Regions from separate parts of the Homo sapiens genome. Here all the other regions are linked to region 1. Evidence: promoter capture Hi-C in human tissues and cell types (Jung and others, 2019). All regions are on one chromosome and are shown on one strand. The core of a region is centred on a gene start or on the middle of the fragment in contact, and the rest is flanking DNA. Distances in the headings are between cores, read along the strand shown. Region 1 holds the start of ELAVL2 (ELAV like RNA binding protein 2). Region 2 overlaps ELAVL2 (ELAV like RNA binding protein 2). Region 3 overlaps LOC105375993 (a long non-coding RNA gene).

Evidence for each region. The method cuts DNA at HindIII sites, captures the fragments that hold promoters and counts their contacts. A contact is called where the count stands out against the background at its distance.
Region 2: a fragment that was not itself captured here is called in contact with the fragment with the promoter of ELAVL2 in region 1 in 1 of the 25 tissues and cell types used here (pancreas).
Region 3: a contact is called between a fragment that was not itself captured here and the fragment with the promoter of ELAVL2 in region 1, in 1 of the 25 tissues and cell types used here (mesenchymal stem cells).

The regions. Positions count from the first base shown.
Region 1 is chr9:23,824,910-23,827,609 of GRCh38, reverse strand. ELAVL2 (ELAV like RNA binding protein 2) reads left to right here and starts at 1,370. Exons shown (of 7, transcript NM_004432.5): 1 at 1,370-1,804. It overlaps LOC105375992 (a long non-coding RNA gene), which reads right to left and starts at 1,182. Exons shown (of 3, transcript XR_929519.3): 1 at 1,093-1,182. The HindIII fragment of the contact is 12,029 bases long and covers 1-2,700 here.
Region 2 is chr9:23,788,538-23,791,237 of GRCh38, reverse strand. The region is part of intron 1 of ELAVL2 (ELAV like RNA binding protein 2); the gene reads left to right. Among named protein-coding and RNA genes, the nearest start is that of ELAVL2, 36 kb to the left of the region's middle. The HindIII fragment of the contact is 3,613 bases long and covers 1-2,700 here.
Region 3 is chr9:23,864,818-23,867,517 of GRCh38, reverse strand. All of the region lies in intron 2 of LOC105375993 (a long non-coding RNA gene), which reads right to left. Among named protein-coding and RNA genes, the nearest start is that of ELAVL2, 40 kb to the right of the region's middle. The HindIII fragment of the contact is 9,543 bases long and covers 1-2,700 here.

The sequences.
Region 1 (2,700 bases), core at 121-2,620:
CCTTTCAAAAAGGCATGTGCCTCTGGTTAAGACACATTACATGTGTAATGTAATGTGTACATTACATTTACACATTCTGGTAAGAATGGTAAAAACTGTCTAGGAAGTTGGTGCTATCTTTCAAGATTGAAAAGAGAAATGCTGGCTGGAAAAGAACGTAGGTCAAATGAATATTGTGTCTACTTATACATCCAGACGATCCTGAGGACCTCACTTTCACTTAGAGGAAGAAACAATTATCATGCATAAAACTGTATTTTGGTCTCCTGAATGCTGTTAAAATATGGGGTTGTAATAAAGTAGTCTTCCTCTATGAAGCAGAAGCATTGATAGCACTTGGTCTTCTGGTTAAACTTCTTAAATCCTCACAGAAAGAGCCCTGATAAAGGTTCAACTATCTTTGCTGTCAGCAATACATGTGTGGTCCAAGGACTGTACCTGTCTGCAAATGCAGAGGAGTGGCTTGTTCCAGTTTTATATACAGCTGCTCTTTTTGAGAATCATTAGACACCTCGAAGTGAAGGACCTTAGCTCTACTCAATACCTCTTTTTCTGGATAGGATATTTATCCTACACTTTTCTATTCTAACATGAAGTGAAAGCCAATTCAAACCGTGCAGCTTTATTTGAGAGCATTTCTGACTTCATCTTTATCTTAAAAGGATGCTTTAAAAAGGGGTTCATGGGGACACATAAATCTGAAATATGCGTATATTAAAATAAAGACATACAATTACCTAACATCTAATACAAAATACAGTACTGAACACAAATCGAAAAAAGGCATGCGGGCAAATAATGGATGTACATTCATCCCTTTCACTCAGATCAAAGAGAGGGAGCTCTCAATGACTCATACATACCGGACAGAGTTAAATGTTATAAAGAAATATGCCACAGATGCAGCAGTGATGGCAAAGGAAATGAATCTTTCTGAAGCAGAAAGATTTAAGAGGAAAGGAGATCGTGCCATATCGCAAACTCTGATAGTACAGTTCCAACCCTCCCACGTTGCTCTCTCCACATTTCTTTTTGCTTCTTGCATTTCCCTTCGCCGCCAGTGTTAAGAGTGTACCTCCCCGCACAACTTACCTTGAAACGGGACTCCATTGAGCTCTCGAGAGTGACACAAGCCCATAGCCAATCGTCTCACGCGGCCCCGCCTGGGCGGCCTCAATGGAAGCGTGTGGACCAATCAGGATCCTGGGGCGATGAGCAAGTTACGTTGTGGCGCGATTCGGCGTATACTTCCGCGCGTGCTGCCCGGGATAGGAGCCTGGCAGAGCAGCTGCACACACGGCAGTGCGGAGGCAGAGAAGGGGTTGGTGATACGGTGCTATAAATCTGTGGTCCAGTCCACCTCCCTTTTAAGACGTCCTCCCCCCTATTTCTGTTCTTAGTTAGAGATGCAGCAGCTTACTCCTGTAGCGACCTACTAAAAAGCAACAAGGAGAAAGACATCGTCTTTTTGAAAAAACGTTCTTTCGTCTCTTTTCTTTGTTCCTTGGTTTGTTTTTCTTGCCCCTTTTTGTTTAGTTGAACGGCAATAGGAGGGTAGTCTCTCCGTCTTTTTAAACTCTTTTTTAAGTTTCCCCTCCCCTTTCATATTTTTTTTCGCCATTTCTTTTAGCATTGGACTTTGGGGTCGAAAGCGTTTCTTTTTATTTGCTTCTTTTAAGCCGAGCACAGTTTAGGTTTCGTGCTGTCTTAAGAGAACTATCCAGCAGCTTCTTGCTCATCCTTATTGGGAGAACTGCACCGTTACTTTAAAAACACACATACACAAAAACCTTAAGGGAGAAAGGTAAGTTTCGGTTTGGTTTCTTTAATCATTAGTTGCAGCGATGCGCTGGCAAACCCAGAAAACCTGTAAGTGAGCGGAATACAGAATATGAAGTTAATTGCACATGTTTGTCTCATTTCAAAGCTACTGTTCTGCTTTTTTAATTTTAAAGAGCTAGACTAAAAGACGGTGGACGCATGCTTAGCGTACTGAATATTCGTAAATGTCCATGGCAGAAACTTAAGTGGTAAATGTGGCCAGGGGGGAGTAGGGGTACAATGGGAGGTTAGATGTGGAGTGAGCTTCAAGATTGAGATCGGAAGTTCATTTCGTGGGGAGAGAGTGATAACTTGGGTGTTGGGGATGCATGCCTCTACTTTGGCTCAGCAACGGAAGGACGGGAGAGGCTTTACAATCATTAAGGGGAATCAGAAGCCTGGACTGGCAGATTAGACCAGCGAAAACCACAGGCTTAATTGCATTAACCAGATAGCATGTGCTGGGGAGATGGGATTGCCAGATGGAATTTAGATGCTGCACCAGGCAGCGAGTTGTAGTTGACTGAAAAAAGTACATGCCGCCTGAGGGCTGGGGCTGGGGCTGGGCTGAGGCTAGGGTTGTTAGAAGCTGTCAGAACTCATCATTGTATGCGGGCTCTGATTCACGGACTCCAATTATCATAATTCAGTTTTAAAAGAAGATAGCCAATTTGGGGCTGAATTCTTAAGCCTGTACCGGATATGAGATTCCCTTTGTTCAGAAAAGCGTAAATAAGATCCTTGGAGCTGTGTCTATGAAGTGCCGGCTGCTTGGGAGCCTCGCTGTGCTGGGCGCTGGGAAGTGGATTCCAAGCCCTGTCCTTGGTCCTACGCGGCTGACTTCGCCTTCGGGGAGAGGGGGAACCCCTCTGCAGCCGC
Region 2 (2,700 bases), core at 80-2,579, 36 kb after region 1:
GCATTTGCCGTTTTCAACCTGGAGATTTCTTTTCCATTTACCCTGTCTGTACAGTAGTTTGTGACCACCTCTGCCTTTTAAAGTTGAGTTTTGACAATTGATATACAATTGATTTCTTCTCTAACCTCTTCAGTTTTATAGTTTGACCTCTTGTTACAAACTGCTTTTAAAGGCACCATGCTTATGCTTTAAAAGCCACTTAAACAGAACATATATTTAGAAGACAGGATGTTTTTGCCACAGATGTCAAGAGGGTCTTGGCAGTGTTTTCACAGAATGTCTGCTGGTGTCTGTGCAGCTCTGAGACTCTAGGCACTCTGTACTTAGAGAACATGTAGAGGTTAAGTGTTCATCAGGAGACCTGCGATGTTTGTGTTGGAAATACTAAGAGATGTGAGGTTTAGGATGTTTTGTGTTGTGTTGCTCTGTGTGCTCGTCCAGAGCAGACATCCTCAAGTCAGAACTTAATGAGGTATGCGGAAAATCACCAGGGGAACCGTAATATATAAAACATAAAATTAAAGCTCTGGGATGAATGGCTAATGCCTAGTTACATTAGATAGTCAGTTTATAGTTATTTGCTCCAGCCTAATTTGGCTGTCTATTCAAGGTAATCAGCAGAGAGTCAAACCTTTAACTTTTTCTTGAGGGACTGCAGTGAGCCTTTTAGCTTTCTTTACGTTGAGCTTTATGGTGACAGATGAGATGAAGGATACTATTTCACTTCCTTCAAGTTTTTAGTGTGGCCTCATTATATTTGAAAGTGAATTCCCAGAGCAGCCGATATGCCTGTAACTAATCCTAAGTAGAAAATCTATTCCAAAGCAGAAAATATATTTTGGCTTTACCTGTGCAGTCACAGACTGGGAAAGCGGGTATTGGGGTGTCTAATAATGTGGATTTAAATGGTTTGGTTAGAATATCTACTCTCCTTTCATCCAACCAGGCATTTCCATATATTTTTGTATTCCCTCTCTTTTTTTCTACCACAGAAGTTTAATTTCAAGATTTTCTGTCTCATCTCTCTCTGGTATTCATTACACCTGTTACATCTGTTTTGTTTCCAGTACAAAACAGCACTCGGACCTGCCTCTTTTACATTGGTCCTCTAACCAAAGAATGATTTAGGAGAAAATTTGTCATTTGTTGAAAGGTTGTTTTTTTTTTTTCCCCTTTTTTACCATCAACCTGTCATTTTGTGTATCTTAATGGATTATTCAAGCATTTATAGCCCTTTGAAAACTTTGGTTTCAGGCATTAGAAATTAATGTAATTTAGGAACATGGTTACCCCTTACCTTACCTCTGAGTGTCCTACCTGTATACATTCAGGAAAGGGTTTAAAAAGCATAGAACACTTAAAAACTTCAAATATGTTTTCTCATTTATAAGTGACATTTAGTAAAGTCTTGAAAGATATAAGAAGCTAACTGTTTTGCAACCATACTGTTTTCCTCTGGGCTGTCTTTAAGAATGTTTATTTACTTTTCTGGGGAAGGGAGATATGTGATAGCTTGTATAATACGATACATTATTTAGGAAGCAATTTCTTGCCATTCAGATTGTGGGTTTCGGATCATTTAGCTAAAAGATTACCCTGCTGAGTGCGTGGAAATCATCTTAAGACAAAATAAGGTTTGTGAAAATGAAAGTTGAATAGGAAGTTGTGCAGATGACCAAGCTTTATCATTCAGCAGGTGTCAGATTTTAAGTTGTGTGGATTCTTTTGAGAAATAATTAAAAGTTTTACCGAATTGTATTACTATTTTGAACTGTTTCCTCAATACTATGCCTCAAGAATTCAGTTGAGGACACATATGCATTTTAATACGTAATTTTGTATGTAGCATAAATTTAATAAATCACTTAATATATAAATTCACTATTTGTGAAATGACGGTCACTTCAGTAGGGTTAGGGGACATACATTCCACCTTACCATTTAGGAAAACTTGCATTTCTTGTGGCTGCGTCTAGTGTCTGGGCACTGGCCTAGACTGATATAGAGGGTCACTGACCCTCTGTATAGGGACTGAATAAGCAGTCCCTCTATATAGGGACTAATAGGAACTGAATAAGCAGGCCAAACTTCTATTCCCCATTTACTGAGTCTTTAACAAGGCCATCTAAAGTTGTAATGGTAAGAAGGAAAAAATTGGGGGACTATATTCTTACACTGCCCTCTATAAGAATACAGAAGCCGTTGGTCTCTTTTCTTTTGCTTGGATGGCAGTAGTTCCTCCTTACCCACAGTTTCGCTTTCCATGATTTCCGTTACCTGCAGTCAACTGTGGTTCACAAATATTAAATGGAAAATTCCAGGCATAAACAATTCACAAGTTTTACACTGCGTGTACTTCTGAATAGTGTGATGTACCCTCATGCTGACCAGTCAGGATGTGAATCCTCCCTTTGTCTAGTGTATCCATGCTGTTAGTCCCTTAGTATAGCCATCTCAGTTATAAGATTGACTTTCGAGGTATTGCACTGCTCGTGTTCAAGTAGCCCTTCTTTTACTTTCAGCGGCCCCAAAGCACAAGAGTAGTGATGCTGGCAGTTCTGACATGCCAAAGAGAGGATGTTAAAGTGCTCCATGTTCCCTTTAAGTAAAAAGGTGAAAGTTCTCGACTTAAAGAAAACTAAATACGCTGAGAGATCACATATACATAACTTTTATTACAGTGTACTGTTACAGCAGTTC
Region 3 (2,700 bases), core at 198-2,697, 40 kb before region 1:
GCAAGAGGAAGGCAGGAGAGTCAGTGTCAGAGTGATGCAATATAAGAAAGATTCAACCTGCCACTTCTGGTGTTGAAGATGAAAAGGGGCCAGAAGCCAAGGAATGCGACTGCCCTCTAGAAGCTGGAAAAGGCAAGGAAACAGATTCTTCTCTATTGTTAACAGAAGACTCTTAGCCTAGTAAGACCAAATTTGAATTTCTGGCCTTCAAAACTTTGTGTTGCTGAATTGTATTGTTTTAAGCCAGAAAGTTTATGGTAGTTTGTTAGATCAGCAATAGACAATACAGTAAAGGTTAAAACGAGGCACAGTGTTCCTCCTTGGACCATGTTTCTGGATGTGCATAAATACAGGGTATCGCTTAGGAAAAACTTAAAGTTGCTGTCTTGGGCCACTTGTTCCCTGTCAACACCTTACTGCTCCTTCTGGGTAGCTTTGCTTCATAGAAACCACAGAATTCTATGGCAAGATGGCTGAATAGGAATAGTTCCAGTCTGCAGCTCCCAGCCATATCAATGCAGAAGGCAGGTGATTTCTGCAGTTCCAACTGAGGAACCCGGCTCATCTCATTGGGACTGGTTAGACAGTGAGTGTAGCCCACAGAGGGTAAGCCAAAGCAGGGTGGGGCATTGCCTCACCTGTGAAGCACAGGGGGTCAGGGAACTGGCTAGCCATGGGAAGCCATGAGGGACTGTGCCGTGAGGAATGGTGCATTCTGGCCCACATACTATACTTTCCCCATAGCCTTCACAACCCACAGACCAGGAGATTCCCTCAGGTGCCTACACCAACAGGGTACTGGGTTTCAAGGAAAAAATTGGGCGGCTGTTTGGGCAGACACTGAGCTAGCTGCAGGAGTTTTTTTTTCATACCCCAGTGGTGCCTGGAATGCCAATGACACAACCCTTCACTGCCATGCAGAGGGGGCTGAATACAGGGAACCAAGTGGTCTAGCTCAGCGGATCCCACCCCCATGGAGCCCAGCAAGCTAAGATCCACTGGCTTAAAATTCGTTTACCCAGCACAGCAGTCTAAAATTGACTGGAGATGCTGGAGCTTGATGGGGGTAAGGGTGTCCACCATTACTAAGGCTTGAGTAGGCAGTTTTCCCCTCACAGCGTAAACAAAGTCACTGGGAAGTTGAAACTGGGCTGAGCCCACCGCCGCTCTGCAAATCTGCTGTAGTCAGACTGCCTCTCTAGATTCCTCCTCTCTGGGCAGGGTATCTCTGACAGAAACGCAGCAGCCTCAGTCAGGGGCTTACAGATAAAACTCCCATCTCCCTGGGACAGAGCACCTGGGGGAACGGGCGGCTGTGGACGCAACTTTAGCAGACTTACATGTTCCTGCCTGCAGCTCTGAAGAGAGCAGCGGATCTTTCAGCAAAGCACTTGAGCTCTGCTAAGGGAGAGACTGCCCCCTCAAGTGGGTCCCTGACCCCCATGCCCCCTGACTGGGAGACACCTCCCAGCAGGGGTTGACAGACAACTCATATAGGAGAACTCTGGCTGGCATCTGGCAGGTGCCCCTCTGGGACAAAACTTCCCGAGGAAGGAACAGGCAGCAATCTTTGCTGTTCTGCAGCCTCCACTGGTGATACCCAGGCAAACGGGGTCTGAAGTGGACCTCCAGCAAACTCCAGCAGACCTACAGCAGAGGGGCGTGACTGTTAAAAGGAAAACCCACAGAAAGTGATATCATCAACATCAACGAAAAGGACGTCCACACAAAAACCCCATCCAAAGGTCACCAACATCAAAGACCAAAGGTAGATAAATTCACGAAGATGAGGAAAAACCAGTGCAAAAAGGCTGAAAATTCCAAAAACCAGACTGCCTCTTCTCCAAAGGATCACAATTTCTTGCCAGGAAGGGAACAAAACTGGATGGAGAATGAGTTTGATGAACTGACAGAAATAGGCTTCAGAAGGTGGGTAATAACAAACTCCTTTGAGCTAAAGCAGCTTGTTATAACCCAATGTAAGGAAGCTAAGCACCTTGATAAAAGGTTAGACTAATTGCTAACTAGAATAACCAGTTTAGAGAAGAACATAAATGACCTGATGGAGCTGAAAAAGAAAGCATGAGAACTTCGTGAAGCATACCCAAGTATCAATAGGCAAATCGATCAAGTGGAAGAAAGGATATCAGAGACTGTAGATTAAGTTAATGAAATAAAGCGTGAAGACAAGATTAGAGAAAAAAGAATAAAAACAATGAACAAAACCTCCAAGAAATATGGGACTATGTGAAAAGACCAAACCTGCGTTTGATTGGTGTACCTGAAAGTGATGGGGAGAATGGAACCAAGGTGGAAAACACTCTTCAGGATATTATCCAGGAGAATTTCCCCAACCCAGCAAAACAGGCCAACATTCAAATTCAGGAAATACAGAGAACACCACAAAGATACTCCTTGAGAACAGCAACCCCAAGACACATAATTGTCAGATTCACCAAGGTTGAAATGAAGGAAAAAATGTTAAGGGCAGCCAGAAAGAAAGGTCTGGTTACCCACAAAATGAAGCCCATCAGACTAACGGCGGATCTCTCTGCAGAAACCCTACAAGCCAGAAGTGAGTGGGGGCCAACATTCAACAATCTTAAAAAAATGAATTTTCAACCCAAAATTTCATATCCAGCCAAACTAATCTTCATAAGCAAAGGAGAAATAAAATCCTTTACAGACAAGCAAATGCTG